Linked DNA regions of Homo sapiens: all the other regions are linked to region 1. The links are contacts of gene promoters, found by promoter capture Hi-C in blood cells and fetal thymus (Javierre and others, 2016). All regions are on one chromosome and are shown on one strand. Each heading gives the region's core, a stretch centred on a gene start or on the middle of the fragment in contact. The rest is flanking DNA. Distances are from core to core; before and after follow the strand shown.

Region 1 (3,226 bases), core at 403-2,902:
CGGTCTGTGTATCCAAGACAGCAGTCAAAGTTGCTTGCTGCTAAAAAAAAAAAAAAGTGAAAGGTATTGGATCCACATGAATAAACTTATCCTGTGATTGGTATTATAAAACTACCTTAAGTTGTGAAAAATCTAGTGAATCTCATGTATATGACGAATAAACCACTTAGAGGAGGAGTTTCAATGTCTTGGAAACCTTTGTAAGGTCGTTGAGAACCAATCTAACATAGTTTACAGTTCTTTGAAAAAACAGTTTGTGTGCCGAGAAGTTTTGGTTCAATAATAGAATTGAGAAACACAGGACTTCTCATAAGTGGGATATCTTCAGTAAGAAATACAAATTGACAATATTTCATTTCAGTTCACTATAATCATTCAAGAATATGAGCAGCCCCTTCCCTACTGCTTGAAGGAACCCTTATGTAGATAAACTTCCAAAAGCAGAAAATGAATAAATTGGCAGATTTTAATCTATTATCTGGCTACTAAGTATTGAGAAATAGAGCTACAAAGGGAAATATGATTTATAGGAGTGAAAACACTTTGAAATTGTCCTATTAATTAATAGGAATGTTTAATTTTGTTCATAAAAGTTCAACATGTGGTTGGGCATGGTGGCTCATGCCTGTAATCCCAGCACTTTGGGAGGCCAAGGAGGAAGGATTGCTTGCCTCCAGGAGTTCGAGACCAGCCTGGGCAACACAGTGAAACCCTGTCTCTACAAAAAAAAAAAAAATGTAAAAAAATTAGCCAGGTGAGTGGCACACGGCCGTGGTCCCTGTTATTCAAGAGGCTGAGACTGGAGGTTCACTTGACTCCAGGAGGTTGAGGCTGTAGTGAGCTGTAATCATGCCACTGCACTCTGGCCTGGGTGATGAAGTTAGACCCTGCCTCAGAAAAAAAAAAAAATTCAATGTGCATTTTTAGGAATGCACCTGTTGCTAAAAGTGTTGTGTGACTATTGAGCAATAAAGCAATACTTGGACATTCCCGAGTCAGATTACAACATGCTGTAAGGTAAGGGATTAATGTTATTTTAAAGTTGGCAAGCAATGTCCCCCATGCCTTGTGGGGATGTTGATGTCAGGTATTATAATCTACTTCTAAAGGATGAGTTTTGAACTTTACCAAAACTATTAAGTTGGGAGGTACGAAAGTTGGGGACACAGGAGGATTCTCTACATTTCAAAATGGCCCCATCTACTGGTAACATTACACACTTTATATCACTCCCAGAAACATCACTTTGGCTTTATCCTGAAGTTTAGGGATCTCTAAGAGCCCACCACTCCCCAAATCTGCTGAGATTGACAGCAGAGAGGAAAGCCTGATCCGCAGCAGTAACTCTTCTCTCCTCCACTCCACCATGGGCAGACAACTTCCATCACTACCTCTTGTATACTTCCTAACAGTTTTCCATCCCTTAGGGACCCCCAGTTGAGCTCAAGGCTAAAAGGAAAATGAAAATAGTCTTTCTTCTGTGCTAGCGGAAAGAGCGACACTTACCTTCTGATTCGCCGCAGAGGTGGAGTAGCAGCACTGACATCAAAGCAGCCAGGAGCAAACTCTTGGTACAGCACATGGTTTTTAGCTCAAAGAACAGATCTGCTCAGTGTTGAGTACCCAGTTCTTTGGGAGTGCTGTTATATTCTGACAGCAGCCTGGGATGGCCCTATTTATAGCAAATATTGGGAATGTACACAGAAGGCGTGTTGCCACATGGGGTTTTCCCCATTGATCAACTGGCCCCATCATGTCATCATAAAAAAAACCCGCAAGGAAAACTTCCTGCTTTTTCCTCATATTGGGAAGGTGCGAAGGTCAGGGTGGGGGACAGGAAGTTGAGAAGGGGAGAATCCTGTTAAATTCTTTGTATTTGCAAAGAGCAAAAGCAGCTCAGCCCTGTGACCCAGAAAAGACTTTCATCCAGTTTTAACTTAATCATTTTTGTGTCTGAAAATAGAGGATTAACAGCGATACAAAGGTCAGCCCCACACAGGAACATTCCAGAACTCCTATTGTTACACCCTATTTGCTTTCCAGAACCAGTCAAGGAGGAGGGGGAGGAGGAGCAGGTGGGATGCCAGGCATACTCTGCTACACATTTACCATCACATGGTTGAGGTTCAGCTGTCATGAAGAAGACCCTGAGTTGCTAGACTAACATTCAGAGCAGGTACTATAACAGTGCTACAGTACTGTCCGCAGTTAGAGTGGAAAATATCAGCCTTTAAGTAAGGCTCAAACCTCAGCTTCACCTTGATTTAATGTCAACTCTTCTAAGAATCTTATACATTCACATGGCTTTAATCAATATTGCAGTTCAGAAAATAATCCTTACCTACCTTTAACTCTCCATGATGATGTACTAATATAACTCAATATAGAGCCTCAGAATTGTTGAGGAAAGAAAACCTATCAGCAGTAGCTAGTCAGCACAGCAAATGTCAAATAACAGTACTAATGATGATAATGTAATATGAATCCCTAACCTAAGGCAGTATAAGAACTCTCCACTAGACCCAAATAGGTTGAAAGTAAAAGGATCAAAAGAAAGGTATACCAAACAGTAAACAAAAGAGAACTGGAGTTGGTGATGCCTATATCAGACAAAATAGATTTTTTTTTAATGTTACCGGAAATAAAAAGGGACTTTCATGGTAACACAAAATTAACCCATTGGGAAGATGTAAAACCTATAACCATATATATACCTAACAGTAGCACCCCAAACTACAGAAAGCAAAAACTGACAGAATTGAAGGGAAGAATAGGAAATTTTATTTTATTTTATTATTATAATTTCTTTTGAGACAGAATTTTGCTCTTGTTGCCCAGGCTGGAGTGCAGTGGCACCATCTCGGCTCACTACAACCTCCGCCTCCTGGGTTCAAGCGATTCGCCTGCCTCAGCCTCCTGAGTAGCTGGGACTACAGGCACGTGCCACCACGCCCAGCGAATTTTTGTATTTTTAGTAGAGACGTGGTTTCACCATGTTGCCCAGGCTGAACTCCTGACCTCATTACAGGCATGAGCCACCGTGCCCAGCAGAATAGGAAATTTAACAATAAAAGTTGACAGCTTTGGTACCACATTTTCACTAATTAATAAAATTTAGGCAGAAGATCCACAAGAAAATAGAAGACTTGAACAACACTATAAGCCAAATAGACTTAGCAGGCATCGAAGGACTACTCTATCCAACATCAACAGAATAGTTGCACAT
Region 2 (3,226 bases), core at 246-2,745, 1.6 Mb before region 1:
ATTAGTGATGTTATTTTCATATGCCTGTTGGCCATTTGTATTATTTTGTACCTTACATAACTGCCAACTCAAAATGGACTAAAAGCTTAGATGTAAGGCCTGGAAGTATAAAACTTCTAGAAGAAAACGTAGGGGAAAAACTTCATAACATTGGCCTTAGGAATGACTTCTTGGATATGATATCCGAGGTACAGGCAACAAAAGCACAAATATACAAGTGGTGCTTCAAACTTAAAAGGTTCTGCATAACAAAGGAACAATCAACAGCATGAAAAGGTGACCTATGGAATGGCAGAAAATATTTGCAAACAATACATTTGATAAGGGGTTAATATCCAAAACTCTTGTTAAAAGAAAGATCTTTCATTGAATCTAAATCAAGAATCAGCAAACTTGTTCTGCGCAAAGGGCCAGACAGTAAATATTTAGGCTTTGCAGGCCATATGGTCTCTGTTGCAACCACTCAGTCCTCTGTTGTAGTGTTAAAACGGCCATAGACAATATGTAAATGCATGACTGTGGCTGTGTCCCAATAAAACTTTATTTGCAAAAACAGGCTGGGATAGATTTCATCTGTGGGCCATAGTTTGCTGACCCCTGGTCTAGAACAGAGTTTCTCAACCTGGCTGTATTGTTATTTTTTTCTGGATAGTCTTGTTGTGAGAGGCTGTCCTGCGCAGCCTCCTGTAGAACTGTAGGATGCTTAGCAGCACTCTTGACTCTGCCTACTAGATGCCAGCAGCAACCCCTCCCCCTGCCTCCAGTTGTGACAACGAAAAATGTCTCCAAACATTTTCAAATGTCCTTTGGGGGACAAAATTGCTGCTAGTTGAGTACCTCTTATCTACATGATGAAAATAATCTAATGAAGGGTAATAGAAATATTTCCCTAAAGTTACAAAAAGTAGGGTAACATACTACTTTTCAGAAGAATTGAAAACTATAGTATATTTGTCTTAGGTAGGTCAAGGGCTCCTCAAAGGGGCCATTATCACAACCTAAATTTGGAAAGCTGTTCAAAAACAACTGAAATGGCAACATATTTGAAAAGTGCTCTGTTAATAATGCAAATATGAGCTTAACCTACTTTTATGATAGGCACAAGAAACAAAGCAGTTCAACATATTAGCATGTTCTAATGGGACTTTCTGAGTTTGAGAGTTGGTTGTGAGCTGGAAAGGCTAGGGAAAAGCTAGTAGTTCTAATTCCTACTTGGATAAGGGCTTATTTTTTCTGCTTATCTGAATTCAGAACGAACACAGTCAGTGTGACTTTTGAAAACACTCACATGTTTTTCATTGTTTGGACAGGGCTGGACAAAAATGGCCTGGTTTCACTGCAAATTGGCAGTAACACATGTTTTCAAAAGTTGAAAACAGCATAACCCTCATGAATGAATCTCAAAGAATGTTGTCTTCTTGTCCTTTAGAATAAACACCTGTTTTGCAAATAGGAGGGTAAAATCCACTTTATCAAGAAATTGTGGGTTTATTTTCTCTTCACTCACATGATTATTTCTTTAGTAATTTAAACATTTAGGTACAATTTAAAATATTATAATTTATATAATCATATCTTTAAACAAGCAATAACAACAAAAATACCCTCACATTTCATCAATAATTTCAGTTAAGCATTTTGAGCTAATTTTCTTTTCTGACTTGAAAAGGAAATACAGATATACTTTTCTAATGTGGCTCTCACACTTTTTGTTTTCTTTTGTTTTTTTTTTGAGATGGAGTTTTGCTCTTGTCGCCCAGGCTGGAGTGCAGTGGTACAATCTTGGCTCACTGCAACCTCTGCCTCCCAGGTTCAAGTGATTCTCCTGCCTCAGCCTACTGAGTAGCTGGGATTACAGGCGCCCGCCACCACGCCTGGCTAATTTTTTGTATTTTTAGTAGAGACAGAGTTTCACCATGTTGGCCAGGCTGGTCTCGAACTCCTGAGCTCAAGTGATCAACCTGCCTCGGTATCCCAAAGTGCTGGGATTACCAGCACTTTGTGGTGGCATGAGCCACCACACCGAGCCAGGTTCTCACTCTTGAAGGGAGCTGTTTGCTCCTCCCCTGCCGTAAATCCTGCTCATTCACTATCTCTGATGGCCACAGCAGACACACTCAGTGACTGGATCACCCTAACACCAGCACTGTTGGATGCACTATGATGAAAATGTCAGTGGATAAATGGAATCACTTCTTTTATACTTGGGATCATGAAAAAGTGTGATAAGAACAGGCGCTTTCTTCATAGCCTTCCCCCAAATCCACCTTTCAACTTTACCCCAAGAGATCTAGCTCCTGAAATCCCATCTGTTTATACCATACTTTCTAATGAATACCCCCAACTGCCTTCCTTGCAGGCTGGTCCCGCGTGGGTTGTAAATGGGATGCATTTGACAGTGGGCCTTTCTCTCTGTCCCTCAGGTTACCATGGCCTCTACTGTGAGGAGGAATATAATGAGTGCCTCTCCGCTCCATGCCTGAATGCAGCCACCTGCAGGGACCTCGTTAATGGCTATGAGTGTGTGTGCCTGGCAGAATACAAAGGTGAGAGGCCGCCTGGCCTTCCTGTGCCAGAATGGCTCTAAATGACGTCATGTATTTCTCAGTGTAAATGCATAAACCTCTAATTGGACCATGAATTGTTCAGAATAACAATCAAATGCTGAAGCTGGCATGATTAATCGGTCCAAGGAGACCAATTTGCAAGTCTCTGGTTTCTTCCTGATAGATTGAGAAACAACCCCCTTTCCTGTCCTGTTCTTTGTGGATCCTCGCTTTCTTTTTTATTGAATGTGTAAAAAGCTGAAAACAAAAAGTAATATTAAGATGGACTGTCAGACATAGGTTAGAGACCATGGCTGTGAAAACTGTGGAAGAGGAAGGATGCCGTCCTATAAAGCTTCTTATGCAGAGATAGAATGCTGTGCTTTCTTGGGGAGGAGGCAGGCGGAGTCCCATGTATCAGCAAGTAAGTTAATGCTTATTAAAAACAGGCGACATTGACAGAGTGTTTCCAATGTGTGGACCCCGTTCTAACCCCTAATGTGCATAGCTCACTAAATCCCCCCGAGAACCCTATGAGGTGGACAGTAATGCTCTTCCCCTATAAGCCTGGTCAGCGTGGTTCCTAAAGCCCTTTCCCAGCATCTTCACTGGCCTCTGGCCACGTTTTGTGGATGGCAAGGCTTCCTGGAGCCCAGATATCCTCAGACGGCCCTGTTCCA
Region 3 (3,226 bases), core at 417-2,916, 1.6 Mb before region 1:
CAGTGGCTGCTCGCCATCCTTCCTTACTGCAGTGCGACAGATGGCTCCCACTTAAAAGTCACTCTAAAGACGCTGGCATTTTTGGGGTGTCCCTGTACCCACACACAAGCGTCTAAAAGGTGAGCCACACCACTCCACATAGAAGTGGCTGCCACCTGGGATTACCCACACAGACGCTTCATTCCCTTTACCCATTTCTTGGTCTCTCAGCTCCTGCAGGCCTCTGCAAACCTGCCCCCAAAGTCTGAGGAAGCTGAGAGGCTGAAGAAAGAGGCTGACATATCCAGTTTATCAGAAAGAAATGTTTAATAGGGACTTACGAAGAGAAGCCTGTCTGTGTCTTGGGCAGTGGGGAAACAAGATGGCGGATCCCCACACCCACACCATTACCCTTCGGACCCAAGGCTTATGATCCACAGAGGGAGAGGTGGTTCAGAAGGGATGTGCAGGACAATCGAAGTACAATAACATCAAGGTTGTTTTGACCGAAGGGCAGGATTTATGGTAAGTATCTGTTCTTGTACAAGGAACAGTACATAAACTGGAATCCTTAGAGGCATTCCTGGAACTGGGGTTAATCAGTATCCAAGATGCAGTTGCTTTCGCTTCTGCACTATGATGTGTGTGTGTGTGGTTTTCTTGTGTTTATCCTGCTTGGGGTTTGTTGCACATCTTGAATCTGTGGTTACAGTTTTCATCAAACTTGGAAATTTTTAGCCATTAATTTATTAAATATTATTTTTGGCCTCATATCCTTTCTCTAGGATTCTGAGTACATCTATGTTAGACTGCTTAAAATTGTCCAATGGGTCAGAGTCTCTGCTTAGTTTTTGTTTTTGTTTTTGTTTTTGTTTTTGTTTTGAGACGGAGTCTCGCTCTGTTGCCCAGGCTGGAGTGCAGTGGCATGAACCCGGCTCACTGCAAGCTCCAACTCCCAGGTTCACGCCATTCTCCTGCCTCAGCCTCCTAAGTAGCTGGGACTACAGGCGCCCGCCACCACGCCTGGCTAATTTTTTGTATTTTTAGTAGAGACGGGGTTTCACCGTGTTAGCCAGGATGGTCTCGATCTCCTGACCTCGTGATCCACCCACCTCAGCCTCCCAAAGTGCTGGGATTACAGGTGTGAGCCACTGTGCTCAGCTTCTACTTAGTTTTTTAAAAAGTCTTTTTTCTTTCTGAGTTTCAGTTTGTCAAGCTTCTATTGTTCTGTTTTCAACTTTACTAATATTTTCTTCTGCAGTGTCTAATCTACTATTTTTTTATTTTTATTTTTATTTTTTTTGAGACGGAGTCTCACTCTGTCACCCAGGCTGGAGTACAGTGGCGTGATCTCAGCTCACTGCAACCTCTGCATCCCTAGTTCAAGATTCTCTTGCCTCAGCCTCCTGAGTAGTTGGGATTATAGGCATGTGCCATCACACCTGGCTAATTTTTGTATTTTTAGTAGAGACGGGGTTTCGCCATGTTGCCCAGGCTAGTCTCGAACTCCTGACCTCAGGTGATCAGCCCGCCTCAGACTCCCAGAGTGCTGGGATTACAGGTGTGAGTCACTAGTCTACTATTAAGACCATTGGGTTCTAAAAACAATTTCAGATATTGTATTTTTCATATCTAAAAGTTCCATTGGGCTTGTTTTTTATTTTCCATGTTTCTGTTCATTGTTTTTTATATTTTATTTCACATTTTGAACACATTTTTTGTCTGCTAGCTCTCATCCATTGTTTCTGAATTTGTGTCTTTTGACTGATTTTCATGCAGTTATGGGTCACGTGAGCCTACTTTGTTGCATGTCTAATAATTTTTGTTTGAATGATGGTCATTGTGGATTAAGTTGTTGAGTGATTGGATTTTATTGTCTTTTTTAAAAAAAGTAATGGACTTTTTTTGTGTCAGGTAAGTAACTTGCTGACCTAATTAATCCTTTCAAGGTTTGTTGTACATTTTGGGGAGGTGAATGTAGAGTAGCCTTACTCTAGGGATAGTTGTGCCCCATTACTAAGGTGTGATCTTTTGTGGCTTCACTGACTGTACTGGGTAATCCATTAAATAGTTCCACTCTGGCAGTGCAAATCTGAATATTTCTCAGTCCTCTGTGAGTTTGGGAACTGCTCATCTGTCATTTTGTTTGCCAAGCTTCAAGTTACACACACACACGTCTTCAGCAACAGCCTACGGGATGCAGCAGATTTCTGGTGCTCAATTTCTGAGTGGTTCTATCTTGTGTTGTGGTCTTTCCTACAAATTACAGCTACCTTGGCCTCCACACACTCTGATCTTTGTCTCCTCAAGCCAGTGAAACCACTGTGTTCTAAATTAATTCCAGGAAGAAAGCCAGAATGATTGTGGTGCTCAGCTGTTTTATTTCCCTTCTTGCAGCAATCACAGTCATGGACTTCCTGTTGTCCAATGTCTTCATAGTTTTTTTTTTTTTTCATATATTTCATCTAGTTGTCTAGTTGTTTACAGTGGGAAGGCAAGACAGGTGCCAGTTATTCCATCATGATAAAAAAAAGTTAGAAATAATTTTTAAAACTCACTTTATCTTGAATAAACTCTTAGTGAAGTATATGAAAGATTTATAGTCAAAGCACCCAATCAGTGCCTGGCATGTAGGAGGCATATATTTAATACTAGATATTATGATTATAGTAATTGTCATCAATATCTTTTAGTGGGGACTCTGTTAACCCAAGGATTTACTAACAGCGGTGACTTTGGATGGTTTTGTCTTTTTGCATTTCTTAATTTACCCAAGGAAAGCAAGCAGAATCAGTATGCTTGTAAATCTACATAAGTACTACCAAATGTGATACCCACTGTACTTACATATTGCCTCACAGAAGGTAGTACATTGAAAAAAAATTTGGCTGGGCATGGTGGCTCATGCCTGTAATCCTAGCACTTTGGGAGGGTGAGGTGGGCAGATCACCTGAGGTCAGGAGTTCAAGATCAGCCTGGGCAACATGGTGAAACCCCGTCTCTACTAAAAATACAAAAAATTCACTGGGCATGGTGGCACACGCCTGTAATCCCAGCTACTGGGGAGGCTGAGGCAGGAGAATCGCTTGAACCTGGGAGGCGGAGGTTGCAGTGAGCCGAGATTGTGCCACTGCACTCAAGCCTGGGTGATAGAGTGAGATTTTTGTCTCAAAAAAAAAGAAAAAAGAAAAAAGAATTATAAAAGATTTAAAGTTCAGACCTTGATTGCTAGCCTTAGTCAAGTAGA
Region 4 (3,226 bases), core at 497-2,996, 1.5 Mb before region 1:
TCCAGGCACTGGAGTAGATATAAAATAAACTCACCTCTCCAAATATTTATGGGCCTCAGAAGAAAAAGACAAATCAATACACATTTTCTTAAAATCTATTGTGGAGCTGTCATGCTTGACTGCTTTGCCAAGATTTAACCTGCAAGCTCCAACTTTGAGCTCTACATTTTGTGAAATATGTTTTTTTGCCTCGAACACCAAAGACTAATGTTTATACACATTCAGTGTTAATATTAGGATGTCTAAAGTTTCTATGCTTGCTATAGAATATGTTTTTACAGTTTCATTTAATTCATGCATATAAATTATTCTCATCACTTGCTTTAATTAAACTTGAGATCTAGTATTTATCTAACCAGAGTCCTTTCTCTCTGATTTCAGGTTTGGAAAGAAATCCCGGCCTGCAATGTATGATGTGAGCCCCATCGCCTATGAAGATTACAGTCCTGATGACAAACCCTTGGTCACACTGATTAAAACTAAAGATTTGTAATCTTTTTTTGGATTATTTTTCAAAAAGATGAGATACTACACTCATTTAAATATTTTTAAGAAAATAAAAAGCTTAAGAAATTTAAAATGCTAGCTGCTCAAGAGTTTTCAGTAGAATATTTAAGAACTAATTTTCTGCAGCTTTTAGTTTGGAAAAAATATTTTAAAAACAAAATTTGTGAAACCTATAGACGATGTTTTAATGTACCTTCAGCTCTCTAAACTGTGTGCTTCTACTAGTGTGTGCTCTTTTCACTGTAGACACTATCACGAGACCCAGATTAATTTCTGTGGTTGTTACAGAATAAGTCTAATCAAGGAGAAGTTTCTGTTTGACGTTTGAGTGCCGGCTTTCTGAGTAGAGTTAGGAAAACCACGTAACGTAGCATATGATGTATAATAGAGTATACCCGTTACTTAAAAAGAAGTCTGAAATGTTCGTTTTGTGGAAAAGAAACTAGTTAAATTTACTATTCCTAACCCGAATGAAATTAGCCTTTGCCTTATTCTGTGCATGGGTAAGTAACTTATTTCTGCACTGTTTTGTTGAACTTTGTGGAAACATTCTTTCGAGTTTGTTTTTGTCATTTTCGTAACAGTCGTCGAACTAGGCCTCAAAAACATACGTAACGAAAAGGCCTAGCGAGGCAAATTCTGATTGATTTGAATCTATATTTTTCTTTAAAAAGTCAAGGGTTCTATATTGTGAGTAAATTAAATTTACATTTGAGTTGTTTGTTGCTAAGAGGTAGTAAATGTAAGAGAGTACTGGTTCCTTCAGTAGTGAGTATTTCTCATAGTGCAGCTTTATTTATCTCCAGGATGTTTTTGTGGCTGTATTTGATTGATATGTGCTTCTTCTGATTCTTGCTAATTTCCAACCATATTGAATAAATGTGATCAAGTCAAGGATGCAGTTGTCTCTTTTGTTCTTTGAAAACTATATATAAAAAGTTTTGGATGTGATATTGTTTGCCAAACAATCCCATGGTTGATACCATATTAAATAACCTGAGGAGTGCACCTCTGTGGCTGCCGGAGCCCCCTCCTTTGCCTCTGCAAGGCTTTCTGACCTCCTAATTGTCAGTAAGCTCACCCTAGCTGCTTGTCAGTGTGAAGTGTGGAAAAAAAATAAGAATTCTTATCTGAAGTTTTATATCCGAATTTGCCAGTGAAATGCAGCACAAGTGAACGGTGGGCACACTGGAATCCGGAGATGCTTCCAGGCATTGAGGGCAGGCACCTGTGGCCTCAAGAAATACCTTGCGTGCTGCTATCCTGTGGAGGCGCTGCTATCCTGTGGAGGCTAAATGAAATTGCCTTAGCAAATAGCTCCATGGTTCTTAGAAACTTGAAGGCCGTTTAGAGCCACCCTATATTCAGTTCCATTTTGTATCCAAATGCTGCTCTGAAGTCCCAGAGTTATTTTTAAAAATGCATTTTTAACTGTACACAGGAACGTCAGGTAAGGCCAAGAGGAGTCCTGGAACCAGGTGTGAGGGAGAGTTTTAAGCAAAAAGAATTATTTAAGGTTCTTTTCCTTCCCGCTCTACCCTCAAAACATCTGTTCCTAATCCTACAAATGACACAGCAGTACACCCACATTCTGATTATTAAATGATACAGTGCAATACATTAATATTTTCAGTTAAGTGGAAGTAAGGTAAGTACAAAATATTAACTTGGTTGGTTAAACAGTCATGGGAACATGCAGCAGAGTGTTGTGCAGACATACTTACTCCCATCTTCCTATAAAAGACCCTTTGGTTGTGTGTTGCTCAGACACTTCTTGATCGATGATAGGAGAGGGCCATGAAAAGGTGTGAGTTGTACTCCATTTGCCTCTTGACCCCCACGAGCACCTGGACATTGTCTGAGCCTCCGTGTCTTTTTTGCTTATTGGTCTTCATTTGCAAGCTGCTTCAATCACACCCTCTGAAATCATTTTCAATCTCCCAAAGTCTTAAATTCATTATATGCGATGTCTCTTAAAGGACTTGTTTAAAAAACTAAAGTCTTTTATCAATCACAGTTTGTCCCTTGAAAGCCAATTAATGGAGCTTGCAAATTCAGATCTTGGGCAGAGCCTTCTGACCATCTGAGAGTGGCCACCAAATATATCTAAAGACATTTGCTCATTCATTTGGACATTCAATGATAAGAATTCATCTCATCGAGCACTTATTCTTTGTCAGGCAGATGCTGACCGACAAGAGCCCTACCAGAGGATCCTGCCTCCCGAGCTTATAGCTTGTTTTGAACCAGACCTTCATCTAACAAACAAATAAATATAGAATTACACTTCATAGAGCACCATGAAGGAAAGGTAAACTCCACTATAGGGCAGCTTATTTGTAGCAGAGTAGATTAAAACCTTACTTCAATTGTTTACTTGGTAATGACTTTGGACAAGTAGCTCTCTGGGTCTAAGCTTCAAAATTTGAAAAATGGGGATCATGATAGGGCCTCCCTTGAAGAATCGTTGTGAGCATTGGATGCCAGACTGTGTGTGTATCACTTAGCCTCCCTCCAGCGCCCACCAAGATTCAGCACGTTAGCTATTGTTGTTGTTGCTGCTGTTCTTGTTTTACATTCAGACATGATCACAAAGTAGGATAGTACCCTCGCTTTTATGATTAATGATTGGGATCTGCAGTTAGTACATTGTGATATGTGTGAGGAATAGTCCTTCTAGAGCAGGGAGCACATTCTCTAAGGGTGTCAAAACTCCACC
Region 5 (3,226 bases), core at 302-2,801, 1.5 Mb before region 1:
TTAAGAATGGGAAGATACTAGTAACCTGCTTTTGTGGTGCAGGCACTGTGTGTGGCACTGTGCCGAGGAGCTTTATTTTAACTATCTGGCTCATTTGCATCCTGTAACCACTTTTATCCGCATTTTAGAGAGAAACTGAAGGCCAGAGAGTCGAAGTGATTTGGCCAGCGTTGAGCAGCTAGAAATGAACTGAGCTGGAGTTTGAACCAGACAGTTTGGTTCCAATCCTTACTTCTTAAGCACTTCACCATAGTGCAGAAGGATAAGACAGGCACAGTGCAATGTACATGTTGGTGCTGTTGTTATTAATAAATACAGTTAGAGCAATGACTGTTTTGTGGGCTCAGAGAGGCTGCTGTCCTATTTCTTGCTGAAGCAGTGGGTTGACCAAAGGCTACTCTGTTTTTGGTGGCTCAAATCTTTGGTGGCACATAAGCTGCTGTCTCCTATTGAAGTTAAAATTCACAAGTGCCATTGAAGAGCTTTTCAGCTGAAGCACATAGCATTTATCCAAACTAGAGACCTTGAAAGCCGGTGATTAGGGTGGATTGTGTACACATTCATTCCAAGTTTAGACAAAAAAAAAATGGGGAGAAGGAGGGAGGAGGTTGGAGATTTTCAGAGCGGTTGCTTAGAAAAAAGCAACAGCTATTATTACAGAGGCACAGGTTTCTCACTAAACCCATTCTAGATTTTGTTGTTGTTTTCATCAATTGTAGTTGAGTAAGCACAAAACATCGGGCCCTATTGTTCATAAAGAAAACTAGGAGTTGTCATTAATCCGGGGCCTTAGTCTCCCTCAGGAATAAAATGCTATCTTACATCATTGAGTCTTTCTCCAAGTTTGTCAGCAAATCTCTTTCAAGCGATTTGCAAAATCCTAGCCTGGGAACAAACTCTGTGCCCCTTGCTTAACCATGGCCTAATGGCTGTTTCGTGTTGACTGTACTGAGTTATCTTGGAGTGTTAGGCAACTTTTGCATTTTGTTTGATGTTCCAGATTAGGTCCCTCCCATACCAATACCCCTCCACACTGACCCCATTCTACCATGAAAATTAGCCTTGGAGGAGACTCTGGGAGAATCAGCCTTACAGCTTCAAGGGTACTGGAGATCAGGCTGCCTTCTACAAGGTATTTTATTCTGTGAATAGCAGCAGTTCAGGGACTTGTTAGTGGTCAGGAAATAAAACTAGTCCAGAACACTCAATGACTGCAGTGTGCTTCTTTCAGCCCTGTGGACACAAATTTAAACAGAGGCTTTATATAAGTAGAGCAAGAAGAAATAGTTGAGTCGTTTGTCCAAAGACCTCCTTAAAGTCTAGTGGAATTAGTCTACTGTCATTTTGTGTTCACTTAAAAAAAAAGTTGTGATCCCTATTTAGCTGCTAATCAGTGATAAAGCATCAGTGTATTCACCAGGTCCAACCCTTGAGGCCAAAGACTGCAAAAGGAAGGTGTCAGGGAAAAGACACAGACTTGTTTTGTGACTGGCATATTTCAATGCTTCCAGCATCTTGACATGCTCTTCCACTTAATGCTGATGCCACGTGGATCAATAATCTGGCTGAGGTCTTCTTTCCCATGCCTGATGGCCCAGGATTCCTCTGCCCTCTTATGTTTCAACCGAGTTCTTACTTTGATAAGGGAGGCTCCAGTAATGGCCTTCTTAGCCAGGTTGTTTCCTGAATAAGAAATCATTTGGGTAAAAAAAAAATAACGAAAAAAAAGCATATCTGTCTCTTTATAAATAATTTTGACACAATCGCTTACTAGCAATGTTTCAGTTTTGTAACTTCTCTGAGCTTTGCTTTCCCTATCTGTAAAATAGAGAGATGTGCTTTGCAGAGATTTTGGTATGTAGCGTATAGTAGGTGCTCAATAAACAGAAGCACTTCTTAATGTTGTTATGGTTGGTCACTGTAGGAATGGAGTGTTGAGTTTAGATCTAAGCTCCTGTCTTCTCTTCTGTCCATCTTTCTTGTCCATCTACTACGTCCCAAGTACTATGCTGGGTGTGGGTGAAGGGTGAGAAGAAGGGCATAGTTGTAAACTTAGAGGACTCACGGTCCTATTCCTTATTGTTCAAAGTTGGACTTAATATATATTTCCTAGTATGATTGTAACTTTCAGTGTTTCTGTTCATATGAAGAAGATCCCTAGCTAGCTCAGCTTTATAAGCCAGAACCAGTATGTTAATGACCTGCTCACTGTCCACTTGTCTCTGTCTCCTCACTTGGGGAAGCTCCTTTTATTCTCAATGTATAGGAAAGTGCGACGCACAGAATGCAATTGTCTTTACAGTTGGGGGTGAAGATGATGGAGGTTCATATATGATAGTGGGTGTTAGGGTATGGGTGAGCTGGGCTGGGACTTGGGGGCCACATACCTTGTGGCCCTTGATCACTTGGGTCCCTGTTTTAGAGAGGCCTGGGTGTGACTATCCTGAAAATGGTCTGAGTTGACATACCTCTTATATCTCCTTTAGTTTCTGCCAGGCGGTGGTCTCCAGGTCAGGATGAAGTGTTAGTTCTCTCATGTTATAAATGTAGTAAGGGAAGTCGTGCTGAAGTTGACTATTGGGAAATTTCATGTATACTACTGAGTTGAGAGTCCACTCCTCCAAAAGAAATTTTAGATAAGTGAAGCCGTTCTAGAAGCCATCAAATGCATGTTTGCTCCCAACTATCCACAGCTAGAAGGTTATATAGCGTGGCAAGTATTCTCAAACAGGGCACAGAGAAGGGGTGCTGTGGTCAGGGTCCCAGAAGCAACATTTCCTTCCACTCCAGCAGTGCTGCTAGCAGACTCTCATTTAATTGGGTTTTATTGGTGATTTTTACTTTTCCAGCCATACTCATTTCCAAGTATGGAGAAAATCAAGAAATGTCAGCTACCATTCATTGCAGGCTTATTTAGTAGTAGTGTCAGTAATAATAACAATAGCAGCCACCTTTTTCTTAGTATTTACTGTGTTCCCAGCACTGACCTGTCCTCCCAACAGCCTTTGGCAGTAGAGCTGGGGTTCATAGCCAGCAGACTGGTTGTAGGGTCTGCACTCCTAAGCACTGTGCCTCTTGTGTCATGGAGCAGACATTTTGTTTTATATGAAAAGCATATTTAATCCTTGAGAAAATTCTAAGGGACAGAGATTTTGTTGTCTCATTTTTCTGGATGATGTAACAATTCTCCAGAGACTACAGATAACTTTTGCTTGAGTTCATTAAC
Region 6 (3,226 bases), core at 287-2,786, 1.4 Mb before region 1:
GTAGGGAGGATTTTGTAGGAACCTTCTGATGGGAATCCAGAGAGCAAAGCCTGGGACATGAAGCTCTCAATAAGGAAATGGGAAAGGAAGAGTCCATGGTTTTACTTTTAACAAAGTAGGGAATTGCTTTTGCAGATTAGATAATATGTGAGGATTGTGGCAATAGAAGAGGTATCTTGTGTTTGTAATAAATGCATTATTTGGGGGGTTACAAAATAAAATCCCAAAAGAGGAGAAGATAATTAACTTTCTTATGAGAGGTTACCTAATTTTGACTGAGTTGAAAGGAAGAAAAATTAAAGGATTTTAAAGGATTGAATCTCTCTTTCTGTCTCATTTGCTTTCTCTCTTTTTAAAATGAAATGGTTGGCAGAGTTGGAATTTTGGAAAATAGGGTCATGAATATTTGTTGATGAAAACAGTCATGCTTAGTAGCTTTGAGGGGACTCCCTATAGACAGACTTGATTCCTAGTTCTAGTTTTCACAGCTGGTTGCAGTTGTTTGGATGACGATAAGAATCAGGGATACTTGGTTCTGTATTTGGAAAAAATGAAACCAGACTGCTTAAAAATTTGACTGGAAAAAGGCTACTGGGTATGGGGTTCTTTTGGACTATGCTGACTGCTTAACAAGGGATCCTGGTTTGTCTTGTGTCACATTAAAATCCCATGTCTCATTGAAATAGTGGTTAAATGAGGTTGCATGAGTTTTCAGTTGAGAACTAAAAAATAACATATTTTGTTTACATAATGCTAGTTTTTGCTTTATTCTTATGTTTATATTAGAAATGAGTAATTTAGTCCCAGAGAAATTACACGTGGGGCTTTCTGCCAAGACCCAGTGCCAAACATGAGTTTTGTGATTAAAGTATCCAATATTAACCTTTGCTTGACAAAAACCAAGATAAGATGATTTTTTAAAAAAACTTAGATGATCTGAAAAGAAAGCATTATAACAAAAATGTATGAGCTAGGAAAAGCTGAGAGTTACTAAATTGGGCTTTGAATGGTGTAGATGTAACTTTGTGTAAAAATACATGAGTTTCATTTCTCTTGGTATTGGAGGAATACAGATAAAGATGATTGAGATTAATACTAAGCCTCCTTATTTATTGTTTTATTTGATTAGTTCCCTTGGGTGGTGGGATTTACTGTGAGGCAGATACTTTGTTTCATTCTTGTTTTTCATCTTTGGGCTTCATATTCAAATGCCACGTACCTGTAGAATGTTAGCTACAGAAAATTTTTTTAAAGGTGATATTCATTTATTAATTCAACAAATGTTTCTTGAGCACCTACTCTGAGCCAGGTACTATACCAGGCATTGTCATTGTCTTCTGGGAGTGCGCAGTCTTGAGGACGCAATAGACCTATGGATAAGTAATTACAGTACAGCAGAATCAGTGCTATAATAAAAGCAGAGTGGGGAATTATAAACCTTGCCCTAGAAAGGAACCCTTCACAAAGAAGACGATGTAACCTGTTTAAGGATTGATATGGTTTGGCTCTGTCCCCACCCAAATCTCATCTTGAATTGTAACTCCCACAATTCCCATGTGTGGTAGGAGGAACCTAGTGGGAAGTAATTGAATCATGGGAGTGAGTCTTTCCCATGCTGTTCTCATGATAGTGAATAAATCTCACGAGATCTGATGGCTTTAAAAATGGTACTTTCCCTGCATAAGCTCTCTCTGCCTGCTGCCATCCATGTAAGATGTGACTTGCTTCTCCTTGCCTTCCACCATGATTGTGAGGCCTCCCCAGCCATGTGGAACTGTTAGTCCATTAAACCTCTTTCTTTTGTACATTGCCCAGTCTTGGGTATATCTTTATCAGCAACGTGAGAATGGACTAATATAAGGATGAATAGGCATTTGGTAGGTAGAGAAGATTACCCTAGGCATAGGGAAGAATCTTCACAGAGCTGTGAACTCAGGCTGTTCCAGACAAGAGTGAGCACATCACATGAGGCTGAAGGGTTGGAGAAGGACTAGAGTGAAAGAGTATGGAAGCACAACTGGGCTATAGCACAACATTTTATAGGATGTTACTGAGCATGGACTTCATTTTCTAGGCACTGGGAAACTATTGGGAGCTTATAGGTAACAAATGACTCAGATTGGTTTTAAGATGATTCTGTTGGTGGTATAGAAAATGTATTGCAAGCAGGGAAATGTTTTAAGGAGGCTGTTGGAAATGGTACAGGCAAAAGGGGATGAAGATGTCATCTAAAGCAGTGACTTTGGGGTTGAGGAGGTGGCAGAGGTTTTGAGTGAGGGTGAAGAGGCAGAATGGGTTGACAGCTGATTAGAGAGGACGGGAAATGTAGAGGAGAGTCCTGAGGTTCCTAGTGTAGGCAGCTGAGTGGAGCATGAGGCCAGATATGGAGTCAGCCAGTTTTACCAGTCGAAGCAGCATATTTCAGGTGGCAGTGGGATAGGGTGGGTGTAGAATCACGGGTTTTTCTTTTGGACCTATAACTAAGCTATATTTTAGCTTGTGGACATGCAGTTCTTATTATATGGAGTGAGCTGAGTCATAGCAAGTGCTGTGAGTTTTGATTTTAGCTGGCCTCTAATTAGGCAGAACAGGAAAACTCTATTTTAGTTGTTGGATTAAATATTTTTCCACCTCATGATCTAGAGGTAGAGGTCTCTGACTTTAAAAATAGCTATTTACTAGCCAGGCATGGTGGCTCCCACCTGTAATCTCAGCTACTTGGAAGGCCAAGGCCAGAGGATCATTTGAGTTTCAGGAGCTTGAGAAAAGCCTGGGTGAAATAATGATGTAGTGAGATCCCATCTCAAAAACAAAAACAAAAACAAAAACAAAAACAAAAACACTGATTTACTGAGTGATAGCTCTGTACCTGATGCTGTGCTTAAGAGGTACTGTGTTACTAGTTACTAGTTACTAGTATTTTACAAGGGAGAAAAAGGGTACTTATAGAGGTTTATGAATTTGTCAAAAGTGGTGAAGATGGGAGCAAGACAGTTCTGTATTATATGTAAGCATTTTGTTATATGTGAGTTTTGAAAAAAGGTAACTTTTGTAAGAAAGCAGGTGAAAAAATGAAAAGATTCTATTTTAACTTCAGCAGAGAAGTGGTTAGGTGCTTTGCTTCTTATTTGGTGATCTAGGTTGATTATTATAACTTTTCTGACCATATGGGGGAAAATAAAGCTTGATTTACAATGCTGAGAATTTGTACTACCTAATAACTCAC

The links. Contacts are between HindIII fragments. The CHiCAGO score rates a contact against its expected background, and 5 or more counts as called.
Region 2: a fragment that was not itself captured here is called in contact with the fragment with the promoter of CCL20 in region 1 in 3 of 17 cell types (M2 macrophages, M1 macrophages and M0 macrophages); the score reaches 10.8 in M2 macrophages.
Region 3: a fragment that was not itself captured here is called in contact with the fragment with the promoter of CCL20 in region 1 in 1 of 17 cell types (M2 macrophages); the score reaches 6.0 in M2 macrophages.
Region 4: a contact is called between a fragment that was not itself captured here and the fragment with the promoter of CCL20 in region 1, in 1 of 17 cell types (M1 macrophages). The highest score is 6.2, in M1 macrophages.
Region 5: a fragment that was not itself captured here is called in contact with the fragment with the promoter of CCL20 in region 1 in 1 of 17 cell types (M0 macrophages); the score reaches 6.4 in M0 macrophages.
Region 6: a contact is called between a fragment that was not itself captured here and the fragment with the promoter of CCL20 in region 1, in 2 of 17 cell types (M2 macrophages and M0 macrophages). The highest score is 5.5, in M2 macrophages.

Annotation. Positions count from the first base shown.
Region 1 is chr2:227,812,268-227,815,493 of GRCh38, reverse strand. CCL20 (C-C motif chemokine ligand 20) reads right to left here and starts at 1,652. Exons shown (of 4, transcript NM_004591.3): 1 at 1,507-1,652; 2 at 1-40. The coding sequence starts at 1,582. The HindIII fragment of the contact is 16,817 bases long and covers 1-3,226 here.
Region 2 is chr2:229,417,428-229,420,653 of GRCh38, reverse strand. It overlaps DNER (delta/notch like EGF repeat containing), which reads left to right. Exons shown (of 13, transcript NM_139072.4): 9 at 2,424-2,546. Among named protein-coding and RNA genes, the nearest start is that of PID1, 150 kb to the right of the region's middle. The HindIII fragment of the contact is 2,816 bases long and covers 88-2,903 here.
Region 3 is chr2:229,391,482-229,394,707 of GRCh38, reverse strand. All of the region lies in intron 10 of DNER (delta/notch like EGF repeat containing), which reads left to right. Among named protein-coding and RNA genes, the nearest start is that of PID1, 120 kb to the right of the region's middle. The HindIII fragment of the contact is 938 bases long and covers 1,198-2,135 here.
Region 4 is chr2:229,355,807-229,359,032 of GRCh38, reverse strand. It overlaps DNER (delta/notch like EGF repeat containing), which reads left to right. Exons shown (of 13, transcript NM_139072.4): 13 at 382-1,404. The coding sequence ends at 493. Among named protein-coding and RNA genes, the nearest start is that of PID1, 86 kb to the right of the region's middle. The HindIII fragment of the contact is 2,359 bases long and covers 567-2,925 here.
Region 5 is chr2:229,263,632-229,266,857 of GRCh38, reverse strand. All of the region lies in intron 1 of PID1 (phosphotyrosine interaction domain containing 1), which reads left to right. Among named protein-coding and RNA genes, the nearest start is that of PID1, 6.0 kb to the left of the region's middle. The HindIII fragment of the contact is 3,782 bases long and covers 1-3,226 here.
Region 6 is chr2:229,241,626-229,244,851 of GRCh38, reverse strand. All of the region lies in intron 1 of PID1 (phosphotyrosine interaction domain containing 1), which reads left to right. Among named protein-coding and RNA genes, the nearest start is that of PID1, 28 kb to the left of the region's middle. The HindIII fragment of the contact is 3,298 bases long and covers 1-3,185 here.